Regions from separate parts of the Homo sapiens genome. Here regions 2 and 3 are each linked to region 1. The links are contacts of gene promoters, found by promoter capture Hi-C in blood cells and fetal thymus (Javierre and others, 2016). All regions are on one chromosome and are shown on one strand. Each heading gives the region's core, a stretch centred on a gene start or on the middle of the fragment in contact. The rest is flanking DNA. Distances are from core to core; before and after follow the strand shown. Region 1 holds the start of CSF3 (colony stimulating factor 3). Region 2 has its middle 70 kb from the start of NEUROD2. Region 3 overlaps CDC6 (cell division cycle 6).

The links. The method cuts DNA at HindIII sites, captures the fragments that hold promoters and counts their contacts. A CHiCAGO score of 5 or more calls a contact.
Region 2: a fragment that was not itself captured here is called in contact with the fragment with the promoter of CSF3 in region 1 in 1 of 17 cell types (total B cells); the score reaches 7.0 in total B cells.
Region 3: a fragment that was not itself captured here is called in contact with the fragment with the promoter of CSF3 in region 1 in 1 of 17 cell types (erythroblasts); the score reaches 5.1 in erythroblasts.

What each region holds. Positions count from the first base shown.
Region 1 is chr17:40,013,499-40,018,140 of GRCh38, forward strand. CSF3 (colony stimulating factor 3) reads left to right here and starts at 1,942. Exons shown (of 5, transcript NM_172219.3): 1 at 1,942-2,016; 2 at 2,193-2,347; 3 at 2,735-2,842; 4 at 2,987-3,133; 5 at 3,297-4,315. The coding sequence starts at 1,977. The coding sequence ends at 3,461. It overlaps PSMD3-AS1 (PSMD3 antisense RNA 1), which reads right to left and starts at 1,143. Exons shown (of 3, transcript NR_198981.1): 1 at 1,056-1,143; 2 at 740-861. RefSeq lists an enhancer at 1,852-2,351. The HindIII fragment of the contact is 16,036 bases long and covers 1-4,642 here.
Region 2 is chr17:39,535,167-39,539,808 of GRCh38, forward strand. It overlaps a transcript of CDK12 not described here. Among named protein-coding and RNA genes, the nearest start is that of NEUROD2, 70 kb to the right of the region's middle. The HindIII fragment of the contact is 715 bases long and covers 1,461-2,175 here.
Region 3 is chr17:40,298,965-40,303,606 of GRCh38, forward strand. It overlaps CDC6 (cell division cycle 6), which reads left to right. Exons shown (of 12, transcript NM_001254.4): 10 at 1,864-2,066; 11 at 2,504-2,644; 12 at 2,948-4,642. The coding sequence ends at 3,037. Among named protein-coding and RNA genes, the nearest start is that of RARA, 7.9 kb to the right of the region's middle. The HindIII fragment of the contact is 1,157 bases long and covers 1,841-2,997 here.

The DNA of each region.
Region 1 (4,642 bases), core at 692-3,191:
CGGGTGGATCACCTGAGGTCAGGAGTTCGAGACCAGCCTGACCACCAACATGGTGAAATCCCACCTCTACTAAAAATACAAAATTAGATGAGCATGGTGGTGCATGCCTGTAATCCCACCTACTTGGGAGGCTGAGGCAGGAAAATCACTAGAACCAGGGAGGCGGAGGTTGTAGTGAGCCGAGATCGTGCCATTGCACTCCAGCCTGAGCAATGAGCGAAACTCCATCTCAAAAAAACAACAACAAAAACCCACCCTCTACTCCCAGGGAGCTGGGTACAGAGCTGGGCCACATCAGTGCAAGGTGCTGAGCCACAGAGCTAAGGCGGAGCTGCAGGACCGCGGACCAGATAACAGTGTGTGAGATCAGTGTGTGAGATCAGACGTCCCTGCCATTGGTGACCACCAGGGGGCCCCCAAGCACCAGAGATGGCCCCATCCAGTCACCACATCCACTTCTCATCCAGAGATGTCTGTTTCTTGGCACGCTGGGGTAAATTAGGACAGAAGGTGACAGTCTTGGGTGTGGTCAGTCAGACTGCCCCAGGCAGGCCTTGTGGCCTGTAGAAAACGTTCAGGCCTAGGCCGGGCACGGTGGCTCACGCCTGTAATCCCAGCACTTTGGGAGGCCGAGGCGGGTGGATCACGAGGTCAGGAGATCGTGACCATCCTGGCTAACACGGTGAAACCCCGTCTCTACTAAAAATACAAAAAATTGGCCGGGCATGGTGGCGGGCACCTGTAGTTCCAGCTACTCGGGAGGCTGAGGCAGGAGAATGGCGTGAACCCGAGAGGCAGAGTTTGCAGTGAGCCGAGATCGCGCCACTGCACTCCAGCCTGGGCGACAGAGCAAGACTCCATCTGGAAAAGAAAAAGAAAACGTTCAGGTCTGAGCCAGAGGCCCAGGCTGTAATTCTGTCACTTACCATGACCTTGGGCAAGGCACTTCCTTCCCTGGCCCAGTTCACGGGGTTGGAATCGACTCCAAGGTCCCTTCCAGCATTAACGCTGCATGGTTCTAAGATGAGAAGATGGGGCAGTTTCCCCTCTCTCACCCCAGCCCGTGTCCACTTCAAGGTGAATGACCAGGGAAGTCACGTGTCCCAATCCCGCAGTTCCAAAGCCCTTGGGGACCCTACTGTCAGGGTCGTGCACGAGGAGGTGAAGGTCAGGTGAGCCAATCGCCTCGAAGGGTCTTGCCTCATTCGGGACAGACATCCGGTTTCCTCTGGCTCTACCGGGATTCTAGGGGCTTTAGCCGAATGAGTCATGGGGGGCGGGGGGGTTTCTGGGGGAGTTCCCAGCTAATCAACTTGGGACAGGACAGCCTGGAACTTTCGATGGTGCCTATCCAAGTGTGGGGTGGGCACAGCAGCCAAGACCCAATGTCCTTATCTCAGGTAGGGGCTCAGGAGGTCTCCCAGACAGGCAGCCTCCGGAGAGTTTGGGGGTAGGAATGGGAGCAACCAGCTTCTTTTTTTCTCTCTTAGAATTTGGGGGCTTGGGGGACAGGCTTGAGAATCCCAAAGGAGAGGGGCAAAGGACACTGCCCCCGCAAGTCTGCCAGAGCAGAGAGGGAGACCCCGACTCAGCTGCCACTTCCCCACAGGCTGCTGCCGCTTCCAGGCGTCTATCAGCGGCTCAGCCTTTGTTCAGCTGTTCTGTTCAAACACTCTGGGGCCATTCAGGCCTGGGTGGGGCAGCGGGAGGAAGGGAGTTTGAGGGGGGCAAGGCGACGTCAAAGGAGGATCAGAGATTCCACAATTTCACAAAACTTTCGCAAACAGCTTTTTGTTCCAACCCCCCTGCATTGTCTTGGACACCAAATTTGCATAAATCCTGGGAAGTTATTACTAAGCCTTAGTCGTGGCCCCAGGTAATTTCCTCCCAGGCCTCCATGGGGTTATGTATAAAGGCCCCCCTAGAGCTGGGCCCCAAAACAGCCCGGAGCCTGCAGCCCAGCCCCACCCAGACCCATGGCTGGACCTGCCACCCAGAGCCCCATGAAGCTGATGGGTGAGTGTCTTGGCCCAGGATGGGAGAGCCGCCTGCCCTGGCATGGGAGGGAGGCTGGTGTGACAGAGGGGCTGGGGATCCCCGTTCTGGGAATGGGGATTAAAGGCACCCAGTGTCCCCGAGAGGGCCTCAGGTGGTAGGGAACAGCATGTCTCCTGAGCCCGCTCTGTCCCCAGCCCTGCAGCTGCTGCTGTGGCACAGTGCACTCTGGACAGTGCAGGAAGCCACCCCCCTGGGCCCTGCCAGCTCCCTGCCCCAGAGCTTCCTGCTCAAGTGCTTAGAGCAAGTGAGGAAGATCCAGGGCGATGGCGCAGCGCTCCAGGAGAAGCTGGTGAGTGAGGTGGGTGAGAGGGCTGTGGAGGGAAGCCCGGTGGGGAGAGCTAAGGGGGATGGAACTGCAGGGCCAACATCCTCTGGAAGGGACGTGGGAGAATATTAGGAGCAGTGGAGCTGGGGAAGGCTGGGAAGGGACTTGGGGAGGAGGACCTTGGTGGGGACAGTGCTCGGGAGGGCTGGCTGGGATGGGAGTGGAGGCATTACATTCAGGAGAAAGGGCAAGGGCCCCTGTGAGATCAGAGAGTGGGGGTGCAGGGCAGAGAGGAACTGAACAGCCTGGCAGGACATGGAGGGAGGGGAAAGACCAGAGAGTCGGGGAGGACCCGGGAAGGAGCGGCGACCCGGCCATGGCGAGTCTCACTCAGCATCCTTCCATCCCCAGTGTGCCACCTACAAGCTGTGCCACCCCGAGGAGCTGGTGCTGCTCGGACACTCTCTGGGCATCCCCTGGGCTCCCCTGAGCAGCTGCCCCAGCCAGGCCCTGCAGCTGGTGAGTGTCAGGAAAGGATAAGGCTAATGAGGAGGGGGAAGGAGAGGAGGAACACCCATGGGCTCCCCCATGTCTCCAGGTTCCAAGCTGGGGGCCTGACGTATCTCAGGCAGCACCCCCTAACTCTTCCGCTCTGTCTCACAGGCAGGCTGCTTGAGCCAACTCCATAGCGGCCTTTTCCTCTACCAGGGGCTCCTGCAGGCCCTGGAAGGGATCTCCCCCGAGTTGGGTCCCACCTTGGACACACTGCAGCTGGACGTCGCCGACTTTGCCACCACCATCTGGCAGCAGGTGAGCCTTGTTGGGCAGGGTGGCCAAGGTCGTGCTGGCATTCTGGGCACCACAGCCAGGCCTGTGTATGGGCCCTGTCCATGCTGTCACCCCCAGCATTTCCTCATTTGTAATAACGCCCACTCAGAAGGGCCCAACCACTGATCACAGCTTTCCCCCACAGATGGAAGAACTGGGAATGGCCCCTGCCCTGCAGCCCACCCAGGGTGCCATGCCGGCCTTCGCCTCTGCTTTCCAGCGCCGGGCAGGAGGGGTCCTGGTTGCCTCCCATCTGCAGAGCTTCCTGGAGGTGTCGTACCGCGTTCTACGCCACCTTGCCCAGCCCTGAGCCAAGCCCTCCCCATCCCATGTATTTATCTCTATTTAATATTTATGTCTATTTAAGCCTCATATTTAAAGACAGGGAAGAGCAGAACGGAGCCCCAGGCCTCTGTGTCCTTCCCTGCATTTCTGAGTTTCATTCTCCTGCCTGTAGCAGTGAGAAAAAGCTCCTGTCCTCCCATCCCCTGGACTGGGAGGTAGATAGGTAAATACCAAGTATTTATTACTATGACTGCTCCCCAGCCCTGGCTCTGCAATGGGCACTGGGATGAGCCGCTGTGAGCCCCTGGTCCTGAGGGTCCCCACCTGGGACCCTTGAGAGTATCAGGTCTCCCACGTGGGAGACAAGAAATCCCTGTTTAATATTTAAACAGCAGTGTTCCCCATCTGGGTCCTTGCACCCCTCACTCTGGCCTCAGCCGACTGCACAGCGGCCCCTGCATCCCCTTGGCTGTGAGGCCCCTGGACAAGCAGAGGTGGCCAGAGCTGGGAGGCATGGCCCTGGGGTCCCACGAATTTGCTGGGGAATCTCGTTTTTCTTCTTAAGACTTTTGGGACATGGTTTGACTCCCGAACATCACCGACGCGTCTCCTGTTTTTCTGGGTGGCCTCGGGACACCTGCCCTGCCCCCACGAGGGTCAGGACTGTGACTCTTTTTAGGGCCAGGCAGGTGCCTGGACATTTGCCTTGCTGGACGGGGACTGGGGATGTGGGAGGGAGCAGACAGGAGGAATCATGTCAGGCCTGTGTGTGAAAGGAAGCTCCACTGTCACCCTCCACCTCTTCACCCCCCACTCACCAGTGTCCCCTCCACTGTCACATTGTAACTGAACTTCAGGATAATAAAGTGTTTGCCTCCAGTCACGTCCTTCCTCCTTCTTGAGTCCAGCTGGTGCCTGGCCAGGGGCTGGGGAGGTGGCTGAAGGGTGGGAGAGGCCAGAGGGAGGTCGGGGAGGAGGTCTGGGGAGGAGGTCCAGGGAGGAGGAGGAAAGTTCTCAAGTTCGTCTGACATTCATTCCGTTAGCACATATTTATCTGAGCACCTACTCTGTGCAGACGCTGGGCTAAGTGCTGGGGACACAGCAGGGAACAAGGCAGACATGGAATCTGCACTCGAGCAGCCAAAGCCTGGCAGGGAAGACAGAGGCACAGGGACCATGGGAACCCGGAAAGGAGAGGGCATGGGG
Region 2 (4,642 bases), core at 568-3,067, 480 kb before region 1:
GATAAATTTGCCCCTGTGGTATGTGCTGCAATCCTGCTAGTTATGACAAATGGGCAGAGGGCAGATAAAGTCCACTAGGAGAAAGAAAGAAGGGCGATAGGTATCTGAAGTTGTAAATGGGGTGAGCAAGTCATACAGGAAGGTTAAGGGATACACCAGAGCAAGGGAAATTAGAAGGAAGTTGAGTTCAAAAACTGGTGATGATGAGAGTTGCTAACCTGTTTTTGAATCCTCAAAAGTTTAAGTGGTGTTCCCTTTCCTGTGGGCTAAGTCACATCTTATAAGGAGAATGGAGAGCTCAAGATTGTTCCAATTTCTGGAATTATGTGTTCCTGGTTGCAAGTTCATGATTGGGGTATAAACTTCAACCTACTAGAAAATACTGTTTTCACTTCATAGCAGTGAAAATTGAAGCAGTGTCTTTTCAATTCTGGGCCTAAAGGCTGAGGACCTTACTAACCTAGATTTTTCTGTCATACCCAAGGCCATTTCTAACCAGAAACCATGCTGTTCAGTACCTCAATTTCTTAGGCACTGTTCTTTCCTAGATAGGCATCCTTAACTGTATGGTTAATGCCTCAAAGAAGTAAACAGTTAATGCTCTTGGTGCTGATCTTGGGATTTCCATTGTTATTAAAGATTGCCTCATAGCTTGACTGTTTTTTAACTATGGAGTGACTTTTCATATCCTAATCATCCATAAGGGCTAAGTGGAATGGGAATGGGGAATTCCTCAAGGGAGGAAGCACTCAACCATTCCAAGGGAGAGGTGGAACTGCTGAGTCTTCTGGTTGTCCTGAGAGGCAAGGTGAGCATTCCTGGACACTTTGGTTAATTTTACTGTCCAGGTGTGACAGTTCTTATCTGTAGGAACACCTCCAGTGTTCCTAATTAGGAATTCTCTCAAGTAGGAGATTACTCCAAGCCAGAGTTGAAAGACTGGGGGAGTACGACACCTGAAGGAATTACTGGTGGTACTCCTTACTGTACGCAACTGTCTCTCCATCTCCTATCCACCCACTTCTTTTCCCTATTTCTCTTTCTCCCCACTCACCATTCAACTGGAATAATTTAGGCCTACCATCGGTATTGATTGCTTAACCCTACCAGGTATTTAGAGTTACTGCTATTTCATTGTTTTGAAAGGTAATGAGAGTCAATTCAGAAGACAAATGTCTATCTGGATCCTCAACCTACTGTAGTGGAAAGTGAAGGAGAAAGTAAACTAACCATACTTTCTTATTGCTAGGAGCTATGAAAGGAGCTTTTCATTTGTGTTATGTAGGGTACAAAAGATTATTTTGTACCCTGGCCAGGAAAGGCAGGGAGTCATCTTTCTGTCTTCCTGCTTCCCCTCTTTCAACCTTCACCTTTTTATCCTCTTCTTCCATATCCTGAGATTGTTGCTTTTGCTGATGACATTTCTAAGCTCAGTTGCAGATGGTGTCTGTGGGAAGTAAAGCTTGGTGAGAAGAGGGCTCTCTGGTATCTAAGAGAAAGCAGATAAGAGTTGCTTTAATGTCCTGGTGATTAATCACTGGGGTGCCAAAACACTTTGACCACTGGATTTCTCTCATATCTCTTATCTCAAAAAATTAGTACTCCAAGGCTGAGAGAAAGAGACTGATACTGAGTTTGTCTTTCATACCCTCTAAGTGGGTAGTTTGTTAGTGGACCATTCTCAATTTGCAACCTTCAGCTACAGCATACTTCTGTGGAATAAGAAGGTATAGCCATGAAATAAATTTACTTAGACCCAGGTTCTCTAGGACCTGTAAATGGATGGACTTTTTGATATCTTGCTCTGGCATGTTTGTAAACTACAGATAGTATTGACAGCTCTAAAGGAATGAAGGGCATTTTATCCAGGCCAAACCAACCCTGAGGGAGGCAGCATGAAGAAACCTTTAAGAAGTCCACCATATAGCAGTCAGAGCTAAGTAAAGAACAAAGTCTGAGTCTTGGAGGATGTCTTTTCTCTACCTAAGGGGCCTATCTGATGGACTCTCTAGGAGGGGATCCTTCTCCCTCCTCAGTCTCAGAACTACAATAGTGCCTAATGAGGGACACCCTTGGTGAGGATCAGCTTGTAGATGACCCTCCTCACCAAGGCTAATGCAATTTTGAATGCATTTGGACCTGGAGAAAACAGGCTGAATTCAAAGACCTAAAGAAAGCTTAGTAGCCTGGTCCCTTTTTTAAAGTCTGGAACTTTTTAGTTTGGCCTTATACTAGTGTTAATATTTATAATTTCTGTTAGGGGACCAAAAGTCTCAGAAAATGAAGCAATATAAGAGGTGGAAATAAGGGTAAGAAGGGAGAACTAGAAGAGTCTGGTAGCTGGGCTGCAGAAAGAGACTTGGGGTATAATTCCTTATTTTTATTTATTTATTTATTTATTTATTTATTTATTTATTTATTTTTGAGATGGACTTGCTCTTCTTGGAGTGCAGTGGTGTGATCTCGGCTCACTGCAGCCTCCACCTCCCAGGTTCCAGCAATTCTCCTGTCTCAGCCTCCCAAGTAGCTGGGATTACAGGTGCGTGCCACCATGCCCAGCTAATTTTTTGTATTTTTAGTAGTGACAGGGTTTCACCATGCTGGCCAGGCTGGTCTTGAACTCCTGACCTTGTGATCCACCCGCCTCGGCCTCCCAAAGTGCTCGGCCTCCCAAAGTGAGCCACCGCGCCCAGCTTGGATATAATTGCTTATAAAGAAGAGAGGGATACAGGATGGAAGGAAAAATTATGGTTGAGTTAGTGAAATTTATAGGATAATTTTCTTAGAGATTCACAGTTCATTTCAGGAAGACCCCATTAAAGCACCAATACTGAGTAAAGAATTCCCCTTAATTACAGTAGTCTTACCTTTAGGGTTGGAGGATGGGCCAAGAACCCCTAGGATACTATGAAGACATTTTCTGTAGGGAAACTAGAAAAGATGGGCAAATATGTTAAGCAATATGTAAGGACATTTACTTAACACTGTTATCTACATAGTTCAAGAGAGTAATTCAAGAATAAGGAGGAATGACATGGATGCATCACATTAAACAGTTATTTGTATTGTTTGAATTTCAAAACTCCTGCAAGTGGTTTTAGGTATGCTAAGTCAACCTAGAGACTAGTAGTATTCCTCTGCCACTCATTTTAGATCCAAATGATGGCAGTGCATAGAAGAACAAACGAGAATATGCGAATTAGAGTCACAGAATGTTAGAGCTACAAAAGAAGATTAGTTTGTTTGGTTCAGTACCATCTTTAACCAGTAAAAAATGCCCAGAAAGGCCGAGGAACATGTATGGTGTTGCGAGAAAGAAGGGAGAGAAAGGGAACTAACATTGTTGGGTACCTGCTATGTGTCAGGCGCTGCCTAAGTGCTTTGTTTTTATCTTGATTGATTAGCACCTTGAGGCTAAGGGATAGAATGAATAAATGGCAAACCCCGGCTACCTGGGAGCGGTGGCTCACGCCTGTAATCCCAGCACTTTGGGAGGCCAAGGTGGGTGGATCACGAGGTCAGGAGATCGAGACCATTCTGGCTTACACGGTGAAACCCCATCTCTACTAAAAATACAAAAAATTAGCCAGGCGTGGTGGCACAAGCCTGTAGTCCCAGCTTCCCGGGAGGCTGAGGCAGGAGAATTTGCTTGAACCCAGGAGGTGGAGGTTGCAGTGAGTGAAGATTGCGCCACTTCACTCCAGCCTAGGCGACAGAATGAGACTCCATCTCAAATAAATACATACATACATACATACATACATACATACATACATACATACATACATAAGGCTAGTATCCTGAGCAATATGTAGGAGATAAAAGGGAGTGGTAGACCACGTTTTTCTCTCTAACCACACAGGGCTAAACTAGAGGAAGTAAAGAGTCAGCATTTGAGAGTGAGGTTAATCTAAGGAAGTATTTGCCAAACTGTTGAAAGCGACTCATAAATAACTTCTCCATTCCTAGAGACCTTCCAAAACATGTTGATAAGAGTTAGGACTGATAGGGACCAAGATTACTCTTGGCTCTGGAATTGATTTTCATTTTGGAAAATCAAGTCATGACCTGAGAATGTGGGATTAATTGTACAAATAGGAAACAAAATGGAGCTTCTCATCCTAAAATGTCTTCAAAGAGAATAGTATTTATCTACCATGAATGAAGGAGATAAATTCCTTTGGTGACTGTACTTGTTTTTTTGTTTTGTTTTGTAACACTTTGAAGTCATGAAACTGAATTTGTAATCTTGGGGAGATTCAGTGCCAAGTTCAAGGCAGGTGGCAATTTGAAAATTGACAGAATAAGATTGTGTTCCTCATGGTTGTTTGATATAATATCCCAATAGTTATACCATGAGGGCTGCTTCAGTGGGGAGCATTAATATCATTAGCAGAGGCATGTCCTGTGTACAGACAGGACAACCTCTGAGGAAGAAGACTGGGGGAGGGTCCCACCTTCAGGAAGCTTCTGGGTCTTGTGAGAGAGGTCAGTCTTACAGCTGGTGGAGAGTGGGGAATCTGTAAGTCAACATATCAATGCAGGTTGTAATATAAAACTATTATAATAAGAGGAAACCAAAGGAAAGAAATAATCGGAGAAAGTGGACTTATTCAGAAACAATTATTTGAAAATAAAGAAG
Region 3 (4,642 bases), core at 1,169-3,668, 290 kb after region 1:
CGGTTTCTCCATTAGTCCTCTGCAGCATCCCTTTGTGGTAATGTAATATTATAGAAGTAAATTGTTGTGGGGCAACTGCAAGTGATTTCAGGAAGTAACTTCAGGTAAAGGTTGTTACAGAACACATTTCTTTGTCTTGGAATTCATGCATCTCCAAACGATAAGGCCATAGTCTTTTTTTTTTTTTTTTTTTTTTTTTTTTGAGACAGGGTCTCGCTCTGTCACCAGGCTGGAGTGCAGTGGCGTGATCTTGGCTCAATGCAACCTCCTCCTCCCAGGCTCAAGCCATCCTCCCACCCCAGCCTCCTGAGTAGCTGGGACCACAGGCACACACCACCACACCCGGCTGTTTTTTTTGTATTTTTAGTAGCGATGGGGGAAACCCATCGCCTTGTTGCACAGGCTGGTCATGAATTCCTGAGCTCAAGCCATTAGTTATTTTTCCTGATCCTCTCCCTCCACCCTCCTATAGGCCCCAGTGTGTGTTGTCCCCACTATGTGTCTATGTGTTCTCATCATTTAGCTCCCACTTAGAAGTGAGAACATGTGGTATTTGGTTTTCTGTTCCTACAGTAGTTTGCTAAGGATATAGTCTTATGAAGCTTATTGGCAGTTTCCCAACCCCTGGCTTTTATTAAGATGATGATATCTGGCCAGGCATGGTGGCTTACGCCCATAATCCCAGTGCTTTGGGAGGCCGAGGAGGGCAGATTGCTTTGAGCTAAGGAGTTCAAGACCAGCCTGGGCAACATGATGAAACCCCATCTCTACAAAAAATACCAAAAAGAAAAAAAAAAAAAAAAAGATGGTGCTATCTGCTAGCATATCCAATGACATTTTCTCAAGTGTTGCTCTACTGCTAATCAGCTTGGGCAAGTGAACCAAACCTCAAAGGTCATTTGGGGAAGCCATCTGAAGGGCTGACATGGCAGCGACTTCACTCTCCACATTTAGCCACTCATTTGATCCAAAATATTCGGTAATTTTCCAACTTTTTTTTCCCTTTCTTTTTTTTTTATATGGAGTTTCACTCTTGTCGTCCAGGCTGGAGTGCAGTGGCACAATCTTGGCTCACTGCACCTCTGCCTCCCGGGTTCAAGTGATTCTTCTGCCTCAACCTCCCAAGTAGCTGGGATTACAGGCGCCTGCCACCACATCCAGCTAATTTTTTGTATTTTTAGTAGAGATGGAGTTTCGCCGTGTTGGGCAGGCTGGTCTCCAACTCCTGACCTCAGGTGATCTGCCCGCCTTGATCTCCCAAAGTGCTGGGATTACAGGCGTGAGCCACTGCACCTGGCCTTTTTTTTCCTTTCTTAATTACCAAGCACAGTCACCATCTTTGCTTCAAGGTTCTGTTATTCTATACCTCTGAGATACTAGGAACTAGCCTGGCATGGTGGCACGTACCTGTAATCCTAGCTACACAGGAGGCTGAGGCAGGAGGATCACTTGAACCCAGGAAGCCAAGGCTGCAGTGAGCCATGATAGTGCCACTGTACTCCAGCCTGAGTGACAGAGATCCTGTCCCAAAAAAAAATACAGTAGTTCTCTGGTCCTTTCATGAGGTGGGTTTTGTTCCTCTGACATTAAATTACATTCCATAGGACAAAACAGCTCACTATTTGGCCCAGAGAAAGGGTAACCCTACTTTTCAAGTCATCCCACATTATTTTGACATCCTTAAGAGAATAGCATTATCTCTCATCCTTTGGCCTCTGGTTAGAGATTTAAAACCTCTGCTTTGCCACCATGTGACTATACTTGAATTTCCTTTAGCTCAAACTTAGTATCATCTGTCTCATCATACATACACACACACAGTATTTTAGAAATCGAATTAAGCTTGGCTTATTTACTTTATAGGTAAATCACCTTCTGAGCCTCTGATTCCCAAGAGGGTTGGTCTTATTCACATATCCCAAGTCATCTCAGAAGTTGATGGTAACAGGATGACCTTGAGCCAAGAAGGAGCACAAGATTCCTTCCCTCTTCAGCAGAAGATCTTGGTTTGCTCTTTGATGCTCTTGATCAGGCAGTTGAAAATCAAAGAGGTCACTCTGGGGAAGGTAAGTTGGGATGGAGCAGATGGAACGGAGGTAGAGATCAGAATCTGCTTTGCAGAGCAGGTATTTTCCAAAAGGCCTATGATACTTCAGCTGATAATAAATTTAAAATGGATTTTAACAGTAAGAATTAATACTGGTACTATATAAAAGGCACCTATTTCCCTTGGATTGTGGTTGAGAGTTTATCATTAATCCTTTCCCTATCCTCCCCTTCATTTCTGCATCTCTCTAGGAAATATATAAAGCCCCTTTCCTACATTACTGTATAGGTTTTCGGGAATATCTACAGAAGCCTGTTCAAAGATTTTATTGAAAAGAGGAAGAAATAGGGTATTCAGATAAGTTTTTGCAAACCCAGACTCAGGTTTCTTAAATGATTAAAGGCTATAAGCAATGTGACTTTTAAGCAGCGTTTGTTCTCCCTTGTTTCCTACCAGTTATATGAAGCCTACAGTAAAGTCTGTCGCAAACAGCAGGTGGCGGCTGTGGACCAGTCAGAGTGTTTGTCACTTTCAGGGCTCTTGGAAGCCAGGGGCATTTTAGGATTAAAGAGAAACAAGGAAACCCGTTTGACAAAGGTACAACTGCTTTTTTGTGACAGTGTTTTTAATTGTCCTATTTTGTAGAGTGATGCTAAAGTAAAGGTTTATTGTTAAACAAGATGACCACAGTTAGTTAAACAAGTCGTTTTTTGTTAGGTAAGGTTTAAGGTGTGTAAAGATGGGAGTGTGATATGAATATTTTTTCAAGCCATTGGAAAAAAAAGTGTTTAACTTGCTTGCCTTTTGTGAGAAAAAGTTTAATATGGTAGAAGTTTGTATACTGACAACTTTGCTTTTGTGAGTTCCCCAGTGTGAAAAATCCTTTTCTCTTCTTTCCAGGTGTTTTTCAAGATTGAAGAGAAAGAAATAGAACATGCTCTGAAAGATAAAGCTTTAATTGGAAATATCTTAGCTACTGGATTGCCTTAAATTCTTCTCTTACACCCCACCCGAAAGTATTCAGCTGGCATTTAGAGAGCTACAGTCTTCATTTTAGTGCTTTACACATTCGGGCCTGAAAACAAATATGACCTTTTTTACTTGAAGCCAATGAATTTTAATCTATAGATTCTTTAATATTAGCACAGAATAATATCTTTGGGTCTTACTATTTTTACCCATAAAAGTGACCAGGTAGACCCTTTTTAATTACATTCACTACTTCTACCACTTGTGTATCTCTAGCCAATGTGCTTGCAAGTGTACAGATCTGTGTAGAGGAATGTGTGTATATTTACCTCTTCGTTTGCTCAAACATGAGTGGGTATTTTTTTGTTTGTTTTTTTTGTTGTTGTTGTTTTTGAGGCGCGTCTCACCCTGTTGCCCAGGCTGGAGTGCAATGGCGCGTTCTCTGCTCACTACAGCACCCGCTTCCCAGGTTGAAGTGATTCTCTTGCCTCAGCCTCCCGAGTAGCTGGGATTACAGGTGCCCACCACCGCGCCCAGCTAATTTTTTAATTTTTAGTAGAGACAGGGTTTTACCATGTTGGCCAGGCTGGTCTTGAACTCCTGACCCTCAAGTGATCTGCCCACCTTGGCCTCCCTAAGTGCTGGGATTATAGGCGTGAGCCACCATGCTCAGCCATTAAGGTATTTTGTTAAGAACTTTAAGTTTAGGGTAAGAAGAATGAAAATGATCCAGAAAAATGCAAGCAAGTCCACATGGAGATTTGGAGGACACTGGTTAAAGAATTTATTTCTTTGTATAGTATACTATGTTCATGGTGCAGATACTACAACATTGTGGCATTTTAGACTCGTTGAGTTTCTTGGGCACTCCCAAGGGCGTTGGGGTCATAAGGAGACTATAACTCTACAGATTGTGAATATATTTATTTTCAAGTTGCATTCTTTGTCTTTTTAAGCAATCAGATTTCAAGAGAGCTCAAGCTTTCAGAAGTCAATGTGAAAATTCCTTCCTAGGCTGTCCCACAGTCTTTGCTGCCCTTAGATGAAGCCACTTGTTTCAAGATGACTACTTTGGGGTTGGGTTTTCATCTAAACACATTTTTCCAGTCTTATTAGATAAATTAGTCCATATGGTTGGTTAATCAAGAGCCTTCTGGGTTTGGTTTGGTGGCATTAAATGGCAATTTGTGACTGAGACACCAGAGGGCACCCTTATAACATTGACTACTTTGAAAGGGGATGCTTGAGGCTGAGGTAGTTTTGAGGGAAAGGGGGAAGTTCTAGTTTGATTTGTTTGGGAGATTGCTGTCCTTTCATAACTGAAGCAAATGCTTGAAATGTAAACCATGTGTGATACGAATGATCTGAGAGCCAGTGACCAAGTCTGCTTTTCCCTGAGCTCTCCTGCTGCCGCCTCTACCTTTCTGACATGGCCTTCCATTTGGAACTTGATATGTGTACAAGTGATCTGTTGGCCACTGTTTCATTCATCCTGACCACTGTATCCGTGTAATGTGATCTGAGCTACAACAGGTGGTATGGGATAGAGGCAAGGAAAGCAGAGAGAGCCCTCTGAAATGAACACTACCCACTGGTGTGTGTAGCACATGATAGTCTGTAGGCATG